Linked DNA regions of Homo sapiens: regions 2, 3, 4, 5 and 6 are each linked to region 1. Evidence: promoter capture Hi-C in human tissues and cell types (Jung and others, 2019). All regions are on one chromosome and are shown on one strand. Each heading gives the region's core, a stretch centred on a gene start or on the middle of the fragment in contact. The rest is flanking DNA. Distances are from core to core; before and after follow the strand shown.

What was found. Contacts are between HindIII fragments. The study calls those that stand out against the background at their distance.
Region 2: a contact is called between a fragment that was not itself captured here and the fragment with the promoter of WDR70 in region 1, in 1 of the 25 tissues and cell types used here (heart right ventricle).
Region 3: a contact is called between a fragment that was not itself captured here and the fragment with the promoter of WDR70 in region 1, in 1 of the 25 tissues and cell types used here (lymphoblastoid cells).
Region 4: a fragment that was not itself captured here is called in contact with the fragment with the promoter of WDR70 in region 1 in 1 of the 25 tissues and cell types used here (lymphoblastoid cells).
Region 5: a fragment that was not itself captured here is called in contact with the fragment with the promoter of WDR70 in region 1 in 1 of the 25 tissues and cell types used here (IMR-90 fibroblasts).
Region 6: a contact is called between a fragment that was not itself captured here and the fragment with the promoter of WDR70 in region 1, in 1 of the 25 tissues and cell types used here (lymphoblastoid cells).

The regions. Positions count from the first base shown.
Region 1 is chr5:37,376,338-37,381,194 of GRCh38, reverse strand. It overlaps WDR70 (WD repeat domain 70), which reads right to left and starts at 1,877. Exons shown (of 18, transcript NM_018034.4): 1 at 1,803-1,877; 2 at 1,641-1,706. The coding sequence starts at 1,827. The HindIII fragment of the contact is 7,487 bases long and covers 1-4,857 here.
Region 2 is chr5:36,958,372-36,961,996 of GRCh38, reverse strand. NIPBL (NIPBL cohesin loading factor) reads right to left here. Exons shown (of 47, transcript NM_133433.4): 5 at 414-513. Among named protein-coding and RNA genes, the nearest start is that of NIPBL, 83 kb to the right of the region's middle. The HindIII fragment of the contact is 5,778 bases long and covers 1-3,625 here.
Region 3 is chr5:37,000,858-37,003,357 of GRCh38, reverse strand. NIPBL (NIPBL cohesin loading factor) reads right to left here. Exons shown (of 47, transcript NM_133433.4): 13 at 2,470-2,500; 14 at 2,280-2,369; 15 at 593-696; 16 at 11-97. Among named protein-coding and RNA genes, the nearest start is that of NIPBL, 130 kb to the right of the region's middle. The HindIII fragment of the contact is 4,085 bases long and covers 1-2,500 here.
Region 4 is chr5:37,743,972-37,748,828 of GRCh38, reverse strand. All of the region lies in intron 17 of WDR70 (WD repeat domain 70), which reads right to left. Among named protein-coding and RNA genes, the nearest start is that of GDNF-AS1, 93 kb to the left of the region's middle. The HindIII fragment of the contact is 8,823 bases long and covers 1-4,857 here.
Region 5 is chr5:37,666,759-37,671,615 of GRCh38, reverse strand. All of the region lies in intron 10 of WDR70 (WD repeat domain 70), which reads right to left. Among named protein-coding and RNA genes, the nearest start is that of GDNF-AS1, 170 kb to the left of the region's middle. RefSeq lists an enhancer at 2,795-3,089. The HindIII fragment of the contact is 5,236 bases long and covers 1-4,660 here.
Region 6 is chr5:37,104,923-37,109,779 of GRCh38, reverse strand. CPLANE1 (ciliogenesis and planar polarity effector complex subunit 1) reads left to right here. Exons shown (of 53, transcript NM_001384732.1): 52 at 1,309-1,487; 53 at 2,002-3,545. The coding sequence ends at 2,178. Among named protein-coding and RNA genes, the nearest start is that of CPLANE1-AS1, 140 kb to the left of the region's middle. The HindIII fragment of the contact is 5,050 bases long and covers 74-4,857 here.

The DNA of each region.
Region 1 (4,857 bases), core at 628-3,127:
GAAGAATTTGAGGCATTATAGTTGGCTTGAAGACGAAAGGGGCAACATGAGAAGTAATGCAGGTACTTTAAGGAGCTAAGAGGGAAACAGAAATCTCAGCCCTCTAACAAGGAACTGGATGAGCATGGAAACATTCTCCTCCTCCCCCAGTAACTTTATCAAAACTCTTAAAATTTTCCCCTATTTGGCACAAACATATGGACAACTTTCTCACTCCTGAGTAAAGGAATGATGTACTAAAATGAAGGATTTATACCGGGTGGGGTGGCTCATGCCTGTAATCACTTTGAGAGGCTCAGGTGGGCGGACTGCTTGAGCTCAGGAGATTGATCAGCCTGGGCAACATGGTGAAACCTCGTCTCTACCAAAAGTATAAAAAATTAGCCAGGTGTGGTGGCACACATCTGTGGTCCCAGCTACTCAGGAGACTAAGGTGGGAGGATGGCTTAAGCCTGGGAGGAGGAGGCTGCAATGAGCGAAGATCGCACTAGTACACTCCAGCCTGGGTGACAGAGCGAGACTCCATCTCAAAAAATAAAAAAAGAATAGAAAAGGCTGGGCACAGTGGCTCACGCCTGTAATCCCAGCACTTTCGGAGGCCGAGACGGGCGGATCACGAGGTCAGGAGATCGAGATCATCCTGGCTAACACGGTGAAACCCTGTCTCTACTAAAAATACAAAAAAAAAATCAGCCGGGCGAGGTGGCGGGCGCCTGTAGTCCCAGCTACTCGGGAGGCTGAGACCGGAGAATGGCGTGAATCCGGGAGGCAGAGATTGCAGTGAGCCGAGATCTTGCCACCGCACTCCAGCCTGGGCGACTGAGCGAGACTCCGTCTCCAAAAAAAAAAAGAATGAATAGAGAAACTACAGAACTAGTATGTGTGAACACAACCCAAGGCCAATATGTGTAAGTCTACTGTTTAATTACTATCATAGAATTAATACACGCTGGTCAAAAGAAAACAAGAAGACCTTGAGAAAAGGTTCAGGGAAGTTAGAATCCCAATGTTTGGATGAACAGCATTTATAATTTTAAAATGGAAAATAAAGAGAAATCATTTTTCATGTATCAGTCTACTAAGTTTTGTTTTCATTTTTTAAATAATTTTCTTTTTAAATAATAATACCTACTCTGTGTTGGTAGGGATATGGTAAAAATGGCATTCTTAATTCTGTTAACTTTGGTATAACCTGGAACAAGTTTTTTGATGGGTATTACGGCAATAAGCATCAAGAAGCTTTAAAAGGCACATACCCAATTTTTCAGCTTTTTAAGTATTTATATTTCTGAATAAACTACACTCTCTTTTAGAAATCTACCCTACCGAATTACGTATTTTTAAAAATCCTCGTACAAATGCTGTTATTTACAAAAATGTTCATTTTAGCATTATTGGTGACTTAAAATTAGAAAAATCCTTTCTCTTCCTCTCTCTCCAGACTCTCATAACTGTCATCTGAGTTGGTTCCAACGGATAACGCAGAATAGAAGACAAATGGGAGAAGAATATTGACAAACTGCAAGGTATGCACCCGAGCTACAATAATTCCGAGTTGACAGCTCGATCTCCACTCCCACTCTGCGGATCTTCAAACCTCTGCACAAGGAAGAGGGTCTCTGCCTGGGGCAGTCACTCACCGAACCCCGTGAAGCCCATGGTGACCGCAAGCTGCGGGTCCGGTCCCGACGCGTCTGAGCCTGTCACTGGAGCAAGAGGAAAAGAGAGGCGGCCTAGTTAGTGCGGCGCCCCAGCTCCCCCGACACGGCCCACCCCGCCCGGACTCGCCTCATGAAACCCACCTTCGCTGGGCCCAGAGCGCTCCATGGCTGGCCGCACACCCCAGAACCAGCCACAGGGACAGCCCAAACAACTGCAGGGGAACTTGCCAATAACTTGCGGCAAATGCTGGAGGAAGTACCGCCTTCAAGCTACAGCGGCGCCGCCGAAGCCAAGAGCGGCGCCTTCCGCAGAGGGACCGCGGCTTTCTGCGCGGCACCGCCCTACCGGACAGGCGGGAAAGCGCCGCGCAACTCAGACCACTGGAGGGGAGAAGTAGTATCTGGAGTTTCTATAACATCCTTTCCCTTTTTTTTTTTTTTTTTTTAAGCCAGAGCCTCTGTCGCCCAGGCTGCAGTACAGTGGCGTAATCTCAGCTGACTGCAACCTCTGCCTCCCGGGATCAAGCGATTCTCCTGCCTCAGCCTCCCGAGTAGCTGGGATTACAGGTGCCGGCTAATTTTTGGTTTTTTGTTTTGGTTTGTTTTTTTTTTGTTTTTGTTTTTGTTTTGAGACGGAGCCTCTGTCGCCCAGGCTGGAGTGCAATGGCGTGATCTCGGCTCACTGCAACCTCCGCCTCCCGGGTTCAAGCGATTCTCCTGTCTCAGCCTCCCAAGTAGCTGGGATTACAGGCGTCCACCACCACGCGCAGCTAATTTTTTGTATTTTTAGTAGACACGACGTTTTGCCATGTTGGCCAGGCTGGTTTCGAACTCCTGGCCTCAAGTGATCCGCCTGCCTCGGCCTCCCAAAGTGCTGGGATTACAGGCGACACCCTTTGCTTTTTTTTTTTTTTTTTTTTTTTTTGAGGCAGAGTCTCACTCTGTTGCCCAGGCTGGAGTGCAATGGCGTGATCTCGGCTCACTGCAACCTCTGCCACCCAGGTTCAAGCTCTTCTCTTGCCTCAGTGTCCTGAGTAGCTGGGATTACAGGCGCCTGCCACCACACCCGGCTAATTTTTGTGTATTTAGTAGAGACGGGGTTTTGCTATGTTGGCCAGGCTGGTCTTGAACTCCTGACCTCAGGTGATCTGCCCACCTTGGCCTCCCAAAGTGCTGGGATTACAGGCCCCGTGCCACCGCGCTCTGCCTTTTTGTTGTTGTTGTTGTTGTTGTTGACTGAGTCTCCCTCTGTTGCCTTGGCTGGAGTGCAGTGGCGTGATCTCAGCTGACTGCAACCTCTGCCTCCCAGGTTCAAGCGATTCTCTTGCCTCAGCCTCCCGAGCAGCTGGGACTACAGGTGTGCGCCACCATGCCCGGCTATTTAGTATTTGAGACTACAGGCACCCGCCACCACGCCCAGCTAATTTTTTCTATTTTTAGTAGAGGCAGGGTTTACACCGTGTTAGCCAGGATGGTCTCAATCTCCTGACCTTGTGATCTGCCCACCTCAGCCTCCCAAAGTTCTGCGATTAAAGGCGTGAGCCACTGCACCTGGCCTGTCAGTCTAAAGTTTACAAGGCTAATCGTGTGCTCAGGATTGTCCTTCTTAAACAGAATGTGGGAGTTCAACACTTTAACGTTTAGAAGGTGGAGAAGAATCTCTTTCTTTTTGAGACAGAATCTCACTCTGTCACCCAGGCTGGAATGCAGTGGCACAATCTCGGCTCAATGAACCTCCACCTCCTGGGTTCAAGCGATTCTTGTGCCTCAGCCTCCTAAGTAGCTGGGATTACATGTGACCGCCACCACACCCGACTTTTTTTTTTTTTTTTGAGACAGAGTCTCGCTCCATTGCCCAGACTGGAGTGCAGTGGCGCGATCTCAGCTCACTGCAACCTCCGCCTCCTGGGTTCAAGCAATTCTGCCACAGCCTTGCGAGTAGCTGGGATTACAGGCCCTGCCACCACCCCTGGCTAATTTTTGCATTCTTAGTAGAGACAGAGTTTCACCATGTTGGCCAGGCTGGTCTCAAACTCCTGACCTCAAGTGATATGCCCGCCTCAGCCTCCCAAAGTGCTGGGATTACAGACGTGAGCCACTGTGCCCGGCCTAATTTTTGTATTTTTTGTAGAGATAGGGTTTCATCATGTTGCCCATGCTGGTCTTGAACTCCTGAGCTCAAGCGATCCACCCGCCTCAGCCTCCCTAAGTGCTAGGATTACAGGCGTGGGCCACTGCACACAGCCTATGAAAGAATATCTTATACCAAACCTTGTACCTTTGGCGCTAAGCTGGATAAGAAGTGAGCATCTGATCAGCCAAGTCCACTGCTCCCATATTATCGTTATAATCCACAATGACACATGGCTTCTTAGTTTTCTTTCCATCTGTTGTCTACTTCAATCACAGTATCATTGTGGAATATTGACAACATTGTGACTGCCTTGTTGTCACACCATTTCAGTGCCATAAGTTCACCATGGAATTAACATCACACATAGGAATGCTATGTTTTCTAGGATTTGACATTTTCAGCAGTCGAGAATTACTATATTTTGTAAATGGAAATTCCACTACTAAAAACAGAATGCTATAAATAGAATAATGTCTTTTGTTTCCAAAGTCAATATAATAGAGTGATGCAAAAATAATAAAATAGTAGACACAAACTTTGGGGGTTAAGTCGGGACTGTAATCTGTGAGTTATCTTGGGGTAAAGGCTGCAGCTGCAAGCACCATCAGAGAGTATTCTCAGGGAAAATGGGAAATGGGTTAACAGTGGGTAAATCTACGGTGCCTGTAGTGTATTCGTTTTTTTGTTTTTTTGGTTTTGATACAGAGTCTCGCTGTTGTTGCCCAGGCTGGATTGCAATGGCGCAATCTTGGCTCACTGCAACCTCTGCCTTCCAGGTTCAAGCGATTCTCCTGCCTCAGCCTCCTGAGTAGCTGGGATTACAGGCATGCGCAACCAGACCGGCCAATTTTTTTTGTATTTTTAGTAGAGATGGGGTTTCCCCATGTTGGTCAGGCTGGTGTCTAACTCCTGACCTCAGGCAATCTGCCGGCCTCGGCCTCCCAAAGTGCTGGGATTACAGGCGTGGCCCACCACGCCCGGCCAAATTCTTACAATTTTATGTTGTCTTAGCATTTATTTTGAATATAAGTTGGACTTTCTCATATCAGAAACAGGGTTCAG
Region 2 (3,625 bases), core at 1,126-3,625, 420 kb after region 1:
AATCTTGCAAAATAGTCAAATAACATACAAAAATTGTTCACAATTCATAATCAAAGAGTTACAATAAAAAAGTTTTTAAAAACAGGTAATTTGTTTACTTATATAAAAGTACCAATCTGTTTAAGGTACTTAAAGCCATGCTCCGTAAATCTTCTTATCTCAAACACATTAGTTATTTTAACATTTTTTGTCTGTATGAAATTACATTACTAAGATGGTAGCTACTTCAATTAGCATATCAGACTATTTCCATATACAACATTTTAAGGCAAATGCAAAGTGGATTACTATTTAAGTATTTCAACTATTTAAACTCTAAATAATCCACCATTACCTAAATGTATGAACCATATATTCACCAGCATATTCACCATACAAGACAATATTTAATAAACGATATATACATATATTACCTGGAGGGGCTATGTGAGATAGTGGTTTGTTGATAATTGGAAGATGCAGGACTACTGTGCATGGAATTCTGAGAAAGTTTATACTGAGACATCATCATTCCTATGCAAAACACAAAAATACAGAACGTTATTTTCTTCTAACAGTAAAGTGTCCTTTAAATAACTGAAATCAGTTATTCTTTCAAACATTCCAGAGATTTTTTTGATCAATGTTTTCATTTCAAAGAGCAAAATATAGACGCTGTAAAACTGTAAATTTCAAGAACAATTTTATTACAACACCATTTTCCATAAAACTAATCCAGGACTAGAAACAGAGATTATAATATTTTAAAAAAATTTACTTGCTTACTCAATATTCTATTATTTAGCCTTAGAATTGAAAAGATTTTTTTAAAAGTTGTCTTATCTAACCTCGCACCTAACACAATACACTTCCTTCTACAACGGGACTCAGGGTAGTTTTTATTACATGAATATTTTATCATATACATCTCTCATGCTTGGGAACTTAATTTCACAAAGCTATTTGTATTATCATGGTTCAGACACAGGTTTTGAAAAGTACTTTATTTATGGGCCGAAAGTTTGAATTCCTGCAATTTCCACCTGAATGTCTTCTGAAGCAAAACAGAATGTACCTATTCCTTCTTTCACAATAACTCTTTGTCACATAGTAGGGATTAACGGAATATTTTATTAAAAAATAAAAACCTGTGAAGAGCATTCTGGTTCTTACATTTATTTCCAAGCTAGACATTATTTCTCAATTATTCACATGACATTTCATTATATGGGAGACACAGAAAAATTCACTTATTTAGACATTTCAAAATCAGATAAAAATCTACAAATAACACCCTGAATTTTCTTATGATTTCTATAGCCAATCTCTTTTTTGGCAGCTGCAAGCATCAAATTGTATTTCCAAATTTCATTTCCTGCTGTTGTTATAAAAAGTGGCTTTCACTAGAAATATTCAAACAGAAGTTGATTTGCTAAGAGTACTACAAAAGAGATTGTAGCTGAATGAAATTAGGTTTCAAAATCGCCTCTAAGTCTACCATTGAAGGGTGTTTTCTTAAGTATGTAGTCTAAATTTCAACTTCTGACTTTTCTTTTCCAACTCAAACTCAGCACAGAATTGTTTTGCTCCATAGCTTTAATAGCTTAATTACTATAATTATTGTTGCTGGAGGTTTTTTTTTTTTTCTTTTTCTTTTGGAGGGAGATGAACACTCAATGAGACAGGAGTTAAAAAGCTTTTCCCCCCTGAATTAACAGCCATCACTGGGACAAACTGGAATTACTAGTTTGAAAGCAATGGCTTTCTAAATAAAACGGGTAAATGAAATTCTAACAGTCCTTTTCAATTAATTCTAAGTTCCAAAGAACTATGATTAAAGTGATTTGCATTTTATTACAATTTTCTCCACATGCATGACTCATATTTAAACTTACCAACCCCAAAATCAACTTTTTAAATTTCTATTTTATTTTTATTTTTTATTTTTCAATGAGACAGGGTCTCTCTGCATTGCCCAGGCTGGTCTTGAACTCCTGGGCTCAAGCAATCCTCCTACCTTGGCCTCCCAAGTGCCAGGATTACAGGCGTGAGCCACCACGCCCAGCCAACTTTTAAAATTTCAAAGCCATATATCACCAGGAAAATGCTTTAAAAAAAAAAATAACATGCAATTAATTGATTAATTTTAAATGCTAGTTTATGCTTTTACAAAGTAGGGTATACAGAAATCAAACAATATTTTGGACTAAAAAACAAGTATATGTAGTATAAAACACAAAATATGTGACTGAGAGGTGAACACTCTAAAAGTTTTTATCAGAGTGATTTACTACCCAAATACTCAAAAATGTAAGTTGCAAAAATGTAGTATTAGTAGCCTTAGATTCATTTATCCAATATTAGATTTACTCACATTCTCATAAAACTAATACTCCTACTCTATTAGTCTTTCTTCCACTCAACTCTCTTTCCACATTTTCTTTCAATTCCAACATTTTTCCAGAAAGCCGTCATAACTCTAGCTTCCTTCATTATTTATATCTGTCTCCTACTATTGCAATCTAACTTATTAGTTCTGGTGAAGTCAGAGCCCTGTCGTGCATACCTACCTTCAACTTGCTAAAAGGCAAGTCGGTCAGAAGCATCCCCATTATGCATTTTGAGGAATCAATAGTAACTATGCAATTGCTTTCAAAATACCATTCAAACAACACAAGTACACAGAATCAGCAAAGCAATATTATTTAAAGGAAACAGAATGGGAAGCATCATGGAAGTGCTGCCAACAAAGTAAACCAAAACCAAAATGAATTTGGCAAAATTATTTTATTTATTTTTTCTTTTTGTTTGGAGACAGGGTCTCGCTCTGTCGCCCAGGCTGGAAGGCAGTGGTGCAATCTCAGCTCACTGCAGCCTTGACCTCCTGAGCTCAAGCGATCTTCCCACTTCAACCTCCCAAGTAGCTGGGACTACAGGCGCACACCATAATGCCTGGCTAGTTGTTGTATTTTTTTGTAGAGACAGGTTTTCACCATGTTGCCCAGGCTGGTCTTAACTCCTGGCCTGAGGCAATCCACCTGCCTCAGCTTCCAAAAGTGCTGGGATTACAGGCGTGAGTCACCATGCCCGGCTGATAAAATTCTTAAATACAATTATTTAATTAACAAAGTTGAACTTTCTGAAGTTGTCCAAGCTATTCCTGCCCTATTTTAATCTTGAGAGCCAAACAGGCACTTGGGCTTGTCAAATTCAGTAAGCTTGAACAGAACAATGCTCTTAACCCAAAGGTACTCCATGACTACATAAAAATTATATCTGTGTTGGATGTAATATTTTTATTATTTTATAATACCATGAATCAATTTTTCTTTAATAATAATACTTAACCAATTTTTCTGTTGCTAAGGCAACAGGAGTATTAAATCAATTACTAGAAAACCATGAATATAATCACAATCAGTATTAAAACTCTATATACCTGCTACAATGTACATGTTCAAAAGCTTTGCAAATATTTATTTAATTAATGAAAGACTTATTTCAAATTAATTCTGATTTTCTAAAACAAAAAAATTTTTAAGCTGAGTAAACTGATATATTCCAACATATTTAACAAAATACACTTAAAGCTTTGTCTAATTCTCAAGGAATTTAGTTACATATTAAACTACAAGAATCTTATCAG
Region 3 (2,500 bases), core at 1-2,500, 380 kb after region 1:
TTAAACTTACATGATTTAACAAAGTGGAAAGCTTTGACCCATCCTGAATATTCTTCTCCAAGATATTTAAGACTTTCACAGTTTTGTCAGTTGAAAGCTAAAATAGCAATATAAATTCTTTATCAATCGTTGGTAAAAGTTATATATTATTCAAGAAACAATCTGTACAATTATTCCCTTTGAGCTATGGAGGAAATAGCATTGTCACCCTCTTAAAGAGTAAGAAAACTTTCCCACTTAGAACTTCTACTCAACGACCCTAAATGACTAAAGCAAATGTCAAAGAAAAATTTAATATATTTCTGCATTTAAATAATCTAAATATTTGAGAAAATGAAAAAAAAAAACTCTGGAAAAAATTAAAGTCCATGCCTCTTTCAATGCAGTAATATGATTCTCTTTAGAATAATCTGCAGAATACTTTTTTCTTTTGTAAAAAAACAAAAAAACTCATTTAGACTCTCAGAAGTCAACAATGAGTTTTCTTTTTACTATTTACTTTACATAAATTTTATAATTTACCCTGAAAACCTTAAATTAATTTCAAATGTTTCTATGAAGTAAATTTATAAATTTTACTTTGGTGAGATACCTTATCCATTATACCCATTGCTTTTATTTTAGCAGATTCACTGCCAAGTTCATTAAGCTGATGTTTTCCTAAGAGCAGTTCCTGAGGAATTTCATCATCATCACCTGCAAAATCAAGCCAAACAAACACAAACAAAGTTTAGGTAAATAAAATAGTTCAAAATGTCAAGCTTAACTTTCTAATAAAATTTTTAGACATGCAAACTAAACAAATAACCTAAGACGCCTCTATATATAAACCTCAAGTAAACCCTGAATGAAAAAGGACAGAAATTGAAGTCAGATTTATGACTGAAATGGGAAGATGAGATAGATATCTTATCTTTACTACTTTAGATATACTCTTGACTCTTTCTCAACCACATTCTCTGCCTCAGGAGGCTGACCTGAATGGACTACATCAAGAGTCTCCCATGCCCTCTGGCTTTTGTTTGGGTTTGGCCAGTAGGGTGCCCTGTTAGAAGATCAAAGAGGAGTGTAAGGTCAAAGTATTTATATCTCTTACTCTTTGCTTACAAGGTCTCCTCAGGCTGGCTCTGTCCCCTGACCAAAAGGTATTGCTTCTTTCAAGGCAGCCTACTCTACAACTTTTTTTCCTGCAGAATGAGTTCTGGTGACTTTTCTGTATCCTCACTCTTTTGGTTTAAGGCTGTTAACCCTGGGTTCTGGTATTATTTTGCCTCCATCTTTTTAACTGGTCTCTTTGTAAATAACTCCTCCTCATATTATCCTATTTTGAGAGTGCCCTTTGTACTTTTGGACCCTAAATGATACAGAAGACAATTTCTCAGCACAGAACTGTAAAGTTTTAAAAAAGATGAAACTGACATTCTAAATAATCAGCAAACACAATGATACTCAGGCAAGTAATTCTCACAAAACAAATACTTACTTTACCAGCTGAAGGTGGCATAAGATTGTTAAGAATAGCTCTATACATTGCAAGCAGTGTTTTTATAAACATTTTAATATTTATAGATGTAATCTTTATGTCATTGTAAAAGTAATACATGAATATAACATTAATCCTACTGTATTCTAACTGGTTTACTATTTTGTTTTCCATATTAGAATCTGTATTCCCTAAAGCCAGGTGTTTGGGTTTTAGTTATTTTTACATCTCCAGCACTTAACATACTACTGGCATACAGTAAGTATTCAATAAATATTGGTCATTAGAATAAATGAACAGAAGAATAGATGCTTATTTCTGCATATATGCTCCTATCAGTACCTTCATTATACAGGGCCTTTTCAAGCCTCCTCACCTGCATAAAGACTTTTTAAATTACTCTCACTTACTCATGATTCTTTAGATACTATCCAGACTTGATTAATATATACTTGAGTTTTGTACTAAAGTTTTTAATTTCTTGGTAACAGACTAGATTTGACTTTACAACTAGATTTCAAGTTTCTTGATAGCACAGAGTATGCCTCTGTATCCTCTAGAGTAACTGAGTTAAGCCTTAAGTATTTGTGTATTTATCATAGTTAGGGATTCAGAAAAGAGCAGTTGCTAGTCAAATAACAGACTAGAAAGTTTATCATTGTCAGCAACAAGTGATCACAACAACAACCAGTATATGATTTCAAGGTAGGACACATCACTAGAGTAACTGAGTTACTCTAGAGGATACAGTTAAGACACTTAGAGTATGTGTAAATGTATTTTAAGTTGATTTTACCAAACGCAGTAAAATCCATATCTTCCAAATTATCCAAAATATTCTCTATTGAGGCTGTGAATCTCTTAAAAGTTGAAGAGTCCATCATTTCTGCAAGAGAGAAAAATATATTCATTATTCTCACATTACAAGTAGACATGTGAAGCTGAAGAATATGAATAAAGACAAATTAAATAAACTAACGTGTTACCTTCAGGTGTTAGTTTTGGTTCATATGCTTT
Region 4 (4,857 bases), core at 1,196-3,695, 370 kb before region 1:
GACTTCTTTTTAGAAGTGTCTGTTCATATCCTTTGCCCACTTTTTGATGGGTTTTCTTCTTGTAAATATGTTTAAGTTCCTTGTAAATTCTGGATATTAGACCTTTGTCAGATCGGTAGATTGCAAAAATTTTCTCCCATTCTGTAGGTTGCCTGTTCACTCTGATGATAGTTTCTTTTGCTGTGCAGAAGCTCTCTAAGTTTAATTAGATCCCATTTGTCAATTTTAGCTTTTGTTACAATAGCTCTTGGCATTTTTGTCATGAAGTCTTTGCCCATGCCTATGTCCTAGGAATGGTCTTGCCTGGGTTTTCTTCTAGGGTTTTTATGGTTTGGAATTTTACATTTAAGTCTTTAATCCATCTTGAGTTAATTCTTGTATAAGGTATAAGGAAGGGGTCCAGTTTCAGCTTTCTGCATATGGCTAGCCAGTTTTCCCAGCACCATTTACTGAATAGGAGATCCTTTCCCCATTGCTTGTCTTTGTCAGGTTTGTCGAAGATCAGATGGTTGTAGATGTGTAGGTTTCTGAGGACTCTGTTCTGCTTCATTGGTCTATATGGCTGTTTTGGTTACTGTAACCTTGTAGTATGTTTAAAGTCAGGTAACGTGATGCCTCTAGCTTTGTTCTTTTTGCTTAGGATTGTCTTGGCTATACGGGGTTCTTCTTTGATTCCATATGAAATTTAAAATAGTTTTTTCTAATTCTGTGAAGAATGTCAACAGTAGTTTGATGGCAATAGCATTGAATCTATAAATTACTTTGGGTAGTATGGCCATTTTCACCATACTGATTCTTCCTATTCATGAGGATTGAATGTTTTTCCATTTGTTTGTGTCCTCTCATATTTCCTTGATCAGTGGTTTGTAGTTCTCCTTGAAGAGGTTCTTCACATCCCTTGTTAGCTGTATTCCTAGGTATTTTATTCTCTTTGTAGTGACTGTGAATGGGAGTTCATTCATGATTTGACTCTCTGCTTGTCTACTGTTGGTGTAAAGGAATACTTGTGATTTTTGCACAATGATTTTGTATCTTGAGACTTTGCTGAAGTTGCTTATCAGTTCAAGAAGTTTTTAGGTTCAGATGATGAGGTTTTCTAAATATAAAATCATGTCATCTGCAAACAGAGACAACTTGACTTCCTCTCTTCCTATCTGAATACCTCTTGCCTGATTGCCCCAGCCAGAATTTCCAATACTACGTTGAATAGGAGTGGTGAGAGAGGGCATCCTTGTCTTGTATCAGTTTTCAAAGGGAATGCTTTCAGCTTTTGCCCATTCAATGTAATATTGGCTGTGGGTTTGTCATAAATAGCTCTTATTATTTTGAGATATGTTCCATCAATACCTAGCTTATTGACAGTTTTTAAAATGAAGGGGTGTTGAATTTTATCTAAGGCCTTTTCTGCATCTACTGAGATAATCAAAGTGTTCCTATTTTTCCACAGCCTCCCAGCATTTATTCTTCCTGACTTTTTAATAATCATCATTCTGACTGGTGTGAGATGGTATCTCGTGGTTTTATTTGCATTTCTCTGATGATCAGTGATGTTGAGCTTCTTTTCATACGTTTGTTGGCCACGTAAATGTCTTCTTTTGAGAAGTGTCTGTTGATATGTTTTGCCCACTTTTTTGTTTTTTTCTTGTAAATATGTTTTTGGTTTTTGTCTTTGGATCTGTTTATGTGATGGATTATGTTTATTGATTTACGTATGTTGAACCAGCCTTGCATCCCAGGGATGAAGCTGACTTGATGACATGGATTAAGTTTTTTGATGTGCTGCTGGGTTCGGTTTGGCAGTATTTTATTGAGGATTTTTGCATCAATGTTCATCAGGGACATTGGCCTGAAGTTTTCTTTTTTGTGTGTGTTTCTCTTCCTGGTTTTGGTATCAAGATGATGCTGGCTTCATAAAATGAGTTAGGGAGGAGTCCCTCCTTTTCAATTGTTTGGAATAGTTTCAGAAGGAATGGTACCAGCTTCTCTTTGTACTTCCGGTAGAATTTGGCTGTGAATCATCTGGTTGTGGGCTTTTTCTAGTTGATAGGCTATTAATTACTGCCTCAATTTCAGAACTTGTTATTGGTCTATTCAGGGATTCAACTTTTTCCTGGGTTAGTCTTGGGAGGGTGTATGTGTCCAGGAATTTGTCCATTTCTTCTAGATTTTCTAGTTTATTTGCTCAGAGGTGTTCATAGTATTCTCTGATGGTAGTTTGTATTTCTGTGGGGTCAGTGGTGATATCCCTTTTATTATTTTTTATTGCATCTATTTGATTCTTCTCTCTCTTCTTATTAGTCTAGCTAGCAGTTTATCTATTTTGTTAATGTTTTCAAAACACCAGCTCCTGGATTTGTTGATTTTTTTGGAGGGTTTTTCATGTCTCTATCTCCTTCAATTCTTCTCTTAGTTATTTCTTGTCTTCTGCTAGCTTTTGGATTAGTCTGCTCTTGCCGCTCTAGCTCTTTTAATTGTGATGTTAGGGTGTCGTTTTGAGATCTTTCTAGCTTTCTAATGTGGGCATTTAGTGCTAGAAATTTCCCTCTTAATACTGCTTTAGCTATATCTCAGAAATTCTGGAACATTGTCTCTTTGTTCTCATTGGTTTCAAAGAACTTCTTTATTTCTGCCTTAATTTCACTATCTATCCAGGAGTCAATAAGGAGCAGGTTATTCAATTTCCATGAAATTGTGTGGTTTTTGAGTGAGTTTCTTAATTGTGAGTTCTAATTTGACCGCACTGAGGTCTGAGAGGCTGTTTGTTATTATTTCAGTTATTTTGCATTTGCTGAGGAGCGTTTTACTTCCAATTATGTGGTCGATTTTAGAATAAGTGCCATGTGGAAATGAGAAGAATGTATATTCTGCTGATTTGGGGTAGAGAGTTCTGTAGACGTCTACTAGGTCCATTTGATCGAGAGCTGAGTTCAAGTCCTGAATTTCCTTGTTAATTTTCTGTCTCGTTGATCTAACACTGACAGTGGAGTGTTAGAGTCTCCCACTATTAATGTGTGGGAGTCTAAGTCTCTTTGTAGGTCCCTAAGAACTTGTTTTATGAATGTGGGTGCTCCTGTATTGGATACATATATATTCAGAATAGTTAGCTCTTCTTGTTGAATTGTTCCCTTTACCATTATGCAATGCCCTTCTTTGCCTTTTTTGATCTTTGTTGGTTTAAAGTCTGCTTTGTCAGAGACTAGAATTGCAACTCCCATTTTTTTTTTGCTTTCCATTTACTTGGTAGATTTTCCTCCATCCCTTTATTTTGAGCCTGTGTGTGTCTTTGCACATAAGATGGGGCTCCTGAATACAGCACACCAATGGGTCTTAACTCCTTATCCAATTTGCCAGTCTGTGTCTATCTTTTAATTGGGACATTTAGCCCATTTACATTTAAGGTTAGTATTGTTATGTGTGAATTCAATCCTGTTGTCATGATGCTATTTGGTTACTTTGCACACTAGATGCAGTTTCTTCGTAGTGTCAGTGGTTTTTATATTTTGGTGTGTTTTTGCAGTGGCTGGTATTGGTTTTTCCTTTCCATATTTAGTGCTTCTTTCAGGAGCTCTTGCAGTGCAGGCCTCGTGGTAACAAAATCCCTCAGCATTTGCTTGTCTGGAAAGGATTTTATTTCTCCTTCGCTTATGAAGCTTATTAGTTTGGCTGGATATGAAATTCTGGGTTGAAAATTCTTTCCTTTAAGAATGTTGGATATTGGCCCGCAATCTCTTCTGGCTTGTAGAGGTTCTGCTGAGAAGTCTGCTGTTGGTCTGATGGGCTTCCCTTTGTAGGTGACCTGGCCTTTCTCTCTGGCTGCCCTTAACAGTTCGACCTTGGAGAATCCAATGATTAAGGGTCTTGGGGTTGATCTTCTCTTGGAATATCTTAGTGGTGTTCTCTGTATTTCCTGAATTTGCATGTTGGCCTGTCTTGCTAGGTTGGGGAAGTTCTCCTGGAAAATATCCTGAAGTGTGTTTTCCAGCTTGTTTCCATTCTCTCCATCTTCTTCTGGTACTCCAATCAATCATAGGTTCGTTTTTTTAATGAAGTCCCATATTTCTTGGAGGCTTTGCTCATTCCTTTTCATTCTTTTTTCTCTATTCTTGTCTGCATGTCTTATTTCAGTAAGGTGGGCTTCAAACTCTGATATCCTTTCTTCTGCTTGGTTGATTTGGCTGTTGATACTTGTGTATGCTTCACAAAGTTCTTGTGCTGTGTTTTTCAGCTCCATCAGGTCATTTATGTTCCTCTCTAAACTGGTTATTCTAGTTTAGCAATTCCTCCTCCAACATTTTATCAAGCTTCTTAGCTTCTTTGCATTGGGTAAGGACACGCTCCTTTAGCTCATCATAGCTTTTTATTACCCATTTTCTGAAGCCTACCTCTGTCAATTTGTCCCTCTGATCCTCCATCCAGTTCTGTGCCCTTAATGGAGAGACGATGCAATCATTTGGAGGAGAAGAGGCACTCTGGCCTTGTGGGTTTTCAGCATTTTTTTGTTGACTCTTTTTCATCTTCATGAGTTTGTCTAGTTTTGGTCTTCGAGGCTACTGACCCTTGGATGGGGTTTTTGTGGGGCCTTTTTGTTGTTGTTGATGCTGTTGTTGTTACTTTCTGCTTGTTTTTCTTTCAATAATCAGGGCTACTCTTCTCTAGAGCTGCTGCAGTTTGCTGGGGGTTCACTTCAGGCTCCATTCATCTGATTCGCTCCCATGCCTGGAGATGTCACTCAAGGAGGCTGGAGGGCAGCCAAGGTGGGTGCCTCCTCCTTCTTCTGGGACCTCTAACCTCGAGGGGCACCAACCTGATGCCAGTAGAATTGCTCTTGTATAGGGCGTCTGACAATCTCTGTTGGAG
Region 5 (4,857 bases), core at 793-3,292, 290 kb before region 1:
GGTAAGAATTTAAATGAATTACTGTCTGAAAATAGAGAAAATATTAATAGAAAGATTACTAGTCCTAGGGCTAGGACTACTTGACCTAAAATTTTAGCTTACTACATTTAAGTTTGATCCTGGCCAAGCTGCTAGACTTTTCCAGTTTTCAGTTTATTAATCTTTAAAATAATATGCCTTGCAACCTCCCACCCCTGCCCTTCTCCCCCACTCACAAAAAGACTGAGTTACAGTTAATCTGCTATTTCCCTGTCTTATGTCAATACTACAGGTTTATTAAGTCTATCATGCGTACCTCTTCTCAGAAAGGTCCTAAAATGCAACTATGCTGCAAAACACAAATTCCAATAATAAGATGAGCCAAACGCTAGGCTACCTAACAAACTGGGTGTACCAACATTTGACTGTCCTCTCATACCTATCCCTATGACCTCTCAATAGAATTGTTTTTTCTCCTCATTGGGAATCTGTTTTCAAGCTTAGTGGTAACCAAACAATTCCAATAATTCTATGTTTTCAATCACATGTTAGGGTTACTTACTATACCAGGATTTAAAGTACTCCAATATGCCAAGATTTAAAAAATAAAATAAATCCAGGTCTAGACTGAATATAACTTTCTCCTGTTTCTCTGATTTTAGAGACCTGTAGGAAGGACAATGCGGATACAAGTATAGAACTGTCATATAAAGGTGCTTTGCAAATCCATATAAATTCAACTAATATTTACATGCCAAATATTGTCCCAGCCACTGGCGATATAGCAGTGAACAAAATAAAGACCCCATTCCGTGAAGGTTTCATTTCAGTGAGGGAAAATGGATAACAAAATATCTCTAATAGATTTTGTGACATTCAAATTAATATACTATATGAAAGTATGGTATAATGATGAAGAGCACAGACTATAGAGCCAGACTGCTGAGATCAAATCTTGGCTCTTCCACTTACAAGTAGTCACAATTACTTGTGATTCCAAGGTCACATCTATATGATCTTGGGCTAATCTTCCTATGCCTGTTTCTTCAACTATTAAATGAGAATAGTAATAGTACCCACTTCATAAGCTGCTGGGAAAATTTAATGAGTTACTGAAAATGTGGCACACCCCTTTACAATATAATTTTGCTGTTCTTTTTATCAAGATGTGGCATCTGTTTCTCTATACTTTGTATCTTGGTATGGACACGCGACTTGCTTTGGCTTATGAGAAATGTAGCCTCTCACACCTCCCATCGTGAAAAGCATAAATGACTGACACTCTCGCTGCCTCTGTCACTGAGTATGCTTTGCAAGGCCTGAGTGTGGAGGATAAATGGAATTCCAGTTAGCTTGGCCAAAACTTTCTTAGCATCGTGCAGTAGTCCAAGATCCTTTCAGCATATACTCCCCCTTTTTTTCTTTTCTTTTGATATAAGATTTTTATTGAGACACAATTCACATACCATGCACTTTGCTCACTTAAACTATGTAGTTCAACGTTTTCAGTATATTCCAAGAGTTGCGCAGCCACCAGTACAATCAATTTTAGAACCTCGCACTACCCCAAAAGGAAACCCCATACACATGAGCAATCACAATCACTCCCTTTTTTTTCTTAATATTTCAGTCCTAAGCAACCACTAATTTAGTTTCTGTGTAGATTTGCCTAAACTGAACACTTCATACAAATGAAATCATAAAACATGCTGCCTTTTGTGACAGCTTCTTTCATTTAGCGTAATGTTTTTGAGGTTCGTCCATGTTGCAGTATGTATCAGCACTTCATTTCTTTTTATTGCCAAATAATATTTCACTGTATGGATGTACCACATTTTATTTATCCATTCATCAGCTGATGGATATTCAATATTCCATTCTTTCCTCTCTCCTTCACAAACGCATGGTCTACATCATGGTCTGACTCTCTCCAGACTTCTCTGGCTCCCTCCCCAATTTCCCTTCTAGGTACTCCCCAGTAAATCTCTTACACATTTAATCCTGTCTTGGTGTCTGCTTCTCAGAGGACCCAGACTAACACAAGTGGTACCAGCAGTGGTCTGACAACACAGGTGGTAAGAGGAGAATCTGGGACTGCCTCACTCATTGCCCAGGAGGATAGCTTCAGTCCAGGAGTTTGAGGCTGTAGTGAGCCATTACTGCACCACTGCACTCCAGCCTGGGCTACAGAGCAAGACCCCTGACTCTAAAGAAAACAAAATGTTTTTTTTTTTTTAAAAAAAAGATAATTATGTTCCAGGTCAAGATGTTTTCCCCCTTCCCTCTCTCCTTCCTTCCTTTCTTTTAAAGAAATAATTTAAAAACAAAAGACAGTGGGATCTGACAAAGATTTCTGAAAAGTCCATTCAGCATCCCCATAATGTAAAAGTGAAATAAGGAAGTTTTTGGAATCTACATTTACAATGTCAACAACATTTACTGAGAACCTGTTATACACACAACACTGAGATATATAAATAAAAAGAAAATACAGAATTTTCTTGAAATAATTTGCAAGTTGGGAAAGGGGGAAAACATGTATGACCTCATATTCTTTCATAAAACATTTATTGCACCAACTATAAACCAGGCATTTTGGAGGGCACCAAAATGGCTAAGAATGCTCTATGCCATTAATGAGGAAGCTCACAAATGAGAAAGAGAGTGTGCATTTACAACCAGGGTGGAATCTTCCAGGAGGGTTCTCTACTTTCAGTCCAGGTTCACTATTGCAACCACTGGGATTTCAGAAAACAGCTATGACTTAGCATTTATTTTTTATCTGTGTTTGGCAAAGAGATAACCCAGCCTTCATTCATAACTGGCCTATGTTGTAATTATATGCCTGTTTGGTCATCTCAAACCAGGTGACCACAGTGTGTGACTACCTAGGACTCTAACTGATGACCAGCTGGAAGCTGCAGCTGCGGGAGAAAGCTCAACCACTTAGATGTGTGAGTCACAGGCAGAATATGATGCCACCGCTCTGGAATCTTCTGGCTCCCTGTGTGCTTGCAACTTGAAATTGAAGGTGTTTACTTTAGTCTATAAAACAAACCCCTTATGGCTAATGCACAAGTTACCTTCACATTAATCTCTCTTCTTATAAACCCTAGTTGAGACCAGTTGGTATATCACTTAGGCACTCTAAATTTATGCTTCAGAAATCTGAATGCAAAAAAACATTTTAAGTCCTACAGAAGACCCATGCTTTTAGAATTTCAAGAAGGCATGAAATGAAACATCCTGTCTTTCTTGGACTTTGAGACTCTAATTTATAATCTTCAGACATCATACAGAATCATTCAAAAAGGCAGATATTATCTGATTAGATGACTTAAATATCTGGTATATTTTACTGTTCTGATGCTAAGCAAAATATAATTTTTACTGGGAAAAAAATGATACAACTAACACAGAATTTCATATGATATTCTGTAGGTCTCCAAATGAGGATATCACCTAAATCACCAAGAGGAATGATTTAGAAAGAAAGTCCTTCCAGAGAGAAAGCCCAAGAGCAAGGGTTCCTAGAGAATTGTTTTTTGTTTTGTTTTGTTTTGCTTTGTTTGTTTTTGTAACATCATCATATTAGGGGACTACAGCCAAGTAAGCCTGCGAAACTAGAGTTTATTTGCACACCATGGCCTTGTCTTGAAGATTCACAATAAACATGAGTATATTAAAAGCCAAAGTCTTTTAAGTAGTAGTCCTAGAATAAATCAACCTCCTTAACATTTCTAAAGCTTATTTGACTATAGAACCTTTTTTTTTTTTTTTTTTTTTTTTTTTCAGATCGTACAGACTAGCATGGATTGAACTAACATTCTCTGGACCTCACTGGAGAAACATATACCTAGAGCAAGGTCTAGCAAACTTTTTCTAGAAAGGGGCTTATAATACATATTTTAGGCTTTGAGGACCATACAGACTCTGTTGCAACTGTTCACTTCTCCTGTTGTAGCATGAAAGCAGCCATAGCTAATACATAAACAAATGGATAAGGCTATGCAATCCAGCAAAACTTTATTTATAAAAAAGAGGACAGGCTGAATTTGGCCCACAATTAGCTCACTTTTATCTGGAAAAAACTAAAACCTTAGGAAAAAGACCTCTATTTGTCAAATCACTGTTAGCTAAGTTAAAGGCCTCCTGTGATTCAGTAAGAATTTTAAATGGCAACATTAATGGTGGTGGAAATAATAATAATGATGATAATAACAGCAACAGCTACAGTTACTGAACATGTTGCTATTCAGTGCAGTAAAACATACATTTTCCAATTTCATCATTAAAAGAAAGCCTCCTGGGGTATGTGTAATTATTATCTCATTTTACAAACAAGAAAACTGAGGCTGAGTGAAATGAATGGCCCTCAGTGAATGACACCTCCTTGTATCCCCAGGGATGACAGTGCAAGGAGTGAGATGGACAGCATAAAATAACTTTTTTTCTCCTTCAAATTATATAATGCATTCTTTTTGCATTATTTTAGATTTCTCAAAAAAGTCTAGTATAAATTCAATCTAAGGCAGAAGCTAGTAGTGTTTCATCCACGAAGAGGCAATAAAAATCACCTACCAGTCACTTGTTACCTCCCTCTAGATCCAGTCATGGGGGCTGGTACATAGTAATAGCAAAAACATGTATTGGACACTCACTATGGGCTAGATATTGTCCTAAGTGCATGGAATCTAATAACCCTTTGAATCTTCTCAACTGTCCTAAGAGATAAGTACTATTATTATCCCCACTTTCCAGGGAGAGTATGGGGTGCAGAAAGGTAAGGTTAGTTACCCTAGACATGTGACCAGTAAGGGGCAGAGCCAGGATTTGAACCCAAGCAGTGTGTCCCAGGATCTGCACACTTAACGACCA
Region 6 (4,857 bases), core at 1,349-3,848, 270 kb after region 1:
GAGGCTGAGGCAGGAGACTCGCTTGAATCCGGGAGGCAGAGGTTGCAGCGAACCGAAATTGCACCACTGCATTCCAGCCTGGGGACAGAGTGAGATTCCGTCTCAAAAAACAAAAAAGATATACTGGATTTTAACCTGAGCATTTCCTGGGATAGGGCAGTTTAGGGGTAAAAATTAACAGTGTGGTTTTGGACATGTTAAAGTTCAGATGTTTATTGCACATCCAAGCAAGGATTTTAAGAAGGGGCAATTAGCTTTATGAGACTGGAGGTACAGGTTTTAGAGAGCTGTCAGCATGTAGGTGATATTTAAAGCCATGGAACTAAATGAAGTTAGCTAGGGAGAGCAGAGGTGTGTTAGAAAATCTAAAGACCAGGCATGAATGTCTGGTAAGTTCAAGGGACTGAATGTAAAAGTGCTTATTAGCCTATACTAAATGCCAAAGTGTGTGCTGTGATTATTTTGGGGGCTTTATTTCTTGGAGATATCTTCAGCTTCAAGTACATAAGGTTGGTAGAGTTACAAAAGACAAAGAGGGCCCAAACTTCAGCATTGTCATACCTCTTCTCCCCTCTTCAGGGAGCCACATGACTGCTTGTTTGGGATCTATATTTACTTCCCATCTTGTCCCATGTCTTGGGTGTTTCTTCATGAAATCACCTCGAAGGGTAGAACATGCTGTGATATTGGCTTTGGAACATTGTGTTAGGTGAGGTAGGCTCCTCTAGGGCTTTGTGCAGAGAAACCTTATTGGTTTGTGGGTTTACTAAGCTGCCTCTGGGCATTAGCTGGAATGAAAATTTCTTTTCAACAAATACTGATATATGCAGTAAGAAGAAAGAGGGTCATAATGTATTGTCACCACACTCACTGTGATGCCTTTGCCTAAAGGCAGATTGTAAGCATTAAGCCTGGGTGAAGATGCCCAAAACATTGCTTCTAAGAAGTTTTCACAAGACTTTCTGTAAAAGACAGGGAAGGCCCAGGTCTCAGAGTTCACCCAACTTTGGTGTCAATACCTCTCCACCGTTCTGTTATATCTGTGGCCTCTCCTCCCTAGATTTTCTTGTCTTAAAGATTAATTACTAATAGTTTTCAAATCCAAAGGCTGGAATTCAGTTTCCATCTCGTACAGTGACAGGACAGGAATTGTTCGAACTCTAAAGTGAACCATTTCCAGACCTTGTGATTCAAATATTATTTAAAATGTGACTACCTTGGCTTTGATGATAAAAGTCACAATTAACAAATGAATGAATGAATGAATGAATCAATCCCAATGTGTGCTTTGTTCTTATCCCTTAAAAGGCTCTAATGCTCCGTGTCATAGTCTGCAGCATACAAAAAAACATGGAAGTGCTGGGCTTGCACCTCAAACCAAGCAGGTGTGTGTAGAGTATGAAAGAGAGGAGACTGTGGTGAGTCCCTGGACGATACCTTCAGAAATCCATAAGATTCTTCATGAGAGTCACAATTCCCTTCTACAAGTAAGCATTGTTCTAGATTTTGTTTGTCTAGTGATTGCTCTATGTTCTTCAGGTTTTTTGTTTGTTTGTTTGTTTGTTTTTTAGTTTGTTTTTTGTGGGATGTGGAAATACTGAAAAGTTGTTAGGTCAGTTTGAAATCGTGATGCAAAGCATCTTCCCTTTTGGCTTAGTACTTCAGCATTTGTCTTTCAGACTTCTCTGTGACTGTATTTTTTAACTAAAAAATGACCAAAATGTAAGAACATAAAATCGTACTACAAGTATCAACATCCGTTCTGCCCTGTCTTCACATCTGGTGCCAGCATCTCGTTGTGTGAGATGATGTTCAGCTCTTGTCCATCTGGATGTGCTGGGCAATCACAGCCCTATTTCCTGGCACATTTCCTTCAGCCTTTTGATGGATGAGCAACTCTAGAATTTTTGGAAAGCTTAGTTCACGTTCCAGGTTTTTTTGTTTTTGTTTTTTTGTTTGTTTTTAGGGGCTAGGACCACAATTGTCTTTTCAATTTAATAGGACTTGTCTCCAACTGAAGAGGAAGAGCCAGAGCATCCTTTTGGGGTGGGCGGTGTGGACAGCGTGTCTGAGAGCACTGGCAGCATCCTCAGCAAGCTGGACTGGAATGCCATCGAAGACATGGTGGCCAGCGTGGAGGACCAGGGCCTGTCTGTCCACTGGGCCCTGGACCTGTAAGACCTGGATATCATTGGGTTTCCATGCACAGGCCAGCACCTCAGTAATGTGGTTCTGAAAGATTAACAGGTTTAAGGGACAGAAGCAATGAAAGAAGCAATGTGAATTTTCCATTTGCTTTCATATTATTACCTGGATTAGCCATTACCAGAGGAAAAATAAACATTTCTCAGTAACTTTGCCTTTATGGGGAAAGGGTTGACTATTGATGTATTATATGTTTTTGTATTTGATGCATCATTAGGCATAATTTTTAAAATGATAAGTACCTTTCAAGCCAAGTTTGCATAACCTACTTTCAATAAAAACCCTCTATCTTGCCTCCTCCTTTATTACCCTCTGAGTTTTGAGAAACAACCATATACAGATGAATCTAATAGGAAAAAAAAAAATCTTTTCATTGAGAAGAAAATCAGTCTCACCTGAGAACTCAATTATGAACCCTATTTTAAAACACCTATGCAGGGTTTAGCCTAGGAGTGAAAAGAAAAACCAACTACCTTTTACCAACCCTGAATCTCTAAATAAGCAAAGTTTCATGGAGGCCAGGAGATCTTCTGTCTTCTGCCCTGTAGCCTGAAGCCTTGGAGGAAGAAACAGGAATGGATGCTTTGGGCAGGAAAGTAAGGGAATATGACTCCGGCCTCTAGAAGGCTCATCTTAAATTTGTAAGAACCATGGTACAGAGACCTGATTAGTTTTTGGTATTGTGCTCCAATAATGTCATAGTTTTAAGAGATAATTTTTATGAGAATTGACTAAGAACCAGTATCCTTCAACTACTTCATCAATGTTTGGTATAATATAAAAGCACACTATCATCTGAAAAAGCTATTAAATACCCCTCTTTTTCCAAATATCTACCTGTGTGAAGCCAGGTTTTACAACATGTATTGCAGCAAGTTGAATGCAGAAGCAGGTATGGTAATTCAGCTGCCTTCTATCAAGCTAAACATTAAAGAGATTTGTAGAACTATAAAACAATGCTACTCTCCTTACCAAATTGTTTTAGAAAATAGCTTTATAGGCTAACATTATTGTTAATTGTCATTTAATTGTTTTGTCATTTAAAATATTTTAAATTGTTTTCTGTTAGTTTCTTTTTTGTATATTCTATGGGTATTTTATTGATACATGATAGTTGTACATTTTTATGGGGTGCATGTGATATTTTGATATGTGCATACAATGTGTAGCAATCAAATCAGGGTAATTGGGATATTCATCACCTCAAACATTTATCATTTATTTGTGTTGGAAACATTCAAACCTTTTCTTCTAGCTATTTATCCATTGTTGGATACTTATATCAATTCTATATCTTAGCTGTTGTGAATAGAGCTGCAATAAATGTAGGAGTGCAGATATCTCTTTGATATACTGATTTTCTTTCTTTTGTATATATACCCAGCTATGGGATTGCTAGATCATATGGTAGTTCTATTTTTAATTATTTGAGGAACCTCCATACTGTTTTCCATAGCTGCTATACTAATTTGCATTCCCACCAAGGGTGTATGAGCATTCCCCTTTATCTGTATGCCCACAAGCATTTATTTTCCATCTTTTGCTGGAAATGACTATTCCAGCAATAAATAAATAAAATGACTATTAGTCATTTTAACTGGGGTGCAGCGATACCTCATTATGGTATTGACTTCCTTTTTTCTGATGATTAGTAATATTGAGCATTTTTTCATATACCTGTTGGCCATTCGTATGTCATCTTTTGAGAAATGTCCATTCAGATATTTTGTCCATTTTGTAGTAGGATTCTTTTTTGTTACTAAGTTGTTTGAGTTCTTTATATATTGCGGTTATTAATCCTTTGCTGGATGGGTAGCTTGCAAATATTTTCTCCCATTCTTTAGGTTGTCTTTTCACTTTGTTGATGGTTTTCTTTGCTGTGCAGAAGCTTTTCAGCTTGATGTAATTCTATTTGTCAATTTTTGCTTTCATTGCCTGTGCTTTTGAGGTTTTACTCAGAAAAAATCTCTGCCTAGACCAGTGTCCTGAAATGTTTCCCAAATGTTTCTTTCAAGTAGTTTCATAGTTTCAGGTCTCATATTTAAGTCTAATCTATTTTGGTTTTTATATGTGATTTATACAGGTGTAGTTTCATTCTTCTGCAATAGACATCTAGTTTTCTTGGCAGCATTTATTGAACAGGAGAGTATCCTTTCCCCATTGTATGTTCTTGATAGCTTTACCAAAAATGGGCTGGCTGTAAATGCATGGATTTATTGATAGTTTTTTGTTTTGTTTTTTGTTTTGTTTTTGTTTTTGTTTTTGTCTTTGTTTTGAGACAGGATCTCACTTTGTTCTCCAGGCTGGAATGCAGTGGTGTGATGTTGGCTCACTGCAGCCTTGACCTACCAGGCTCAAGCGATCCTCCCACCTCGACTACCCAAGTAGCTGGGACTCCAGGTGCGCACCACCATGCCTGGCTAATTTTTTGTAGTTTTCATAGAGACAGTGTTTCATGTTGCCCAGGCTCATCTCGAACTCCTGAGCTCCAGTGATCCTCCCGCCTTGGCCTCCCAAAATGCTTGGATTAGAGGGATGGGCCACTGCACCCAACCTATTGATAGCTTCTTTATTCTATTCTATTGGTCTGTGTTTTTATACCAGTTCAGTGCTGTTTTTGTTTTTGTAACTGTGTACTAATAACACATGGAG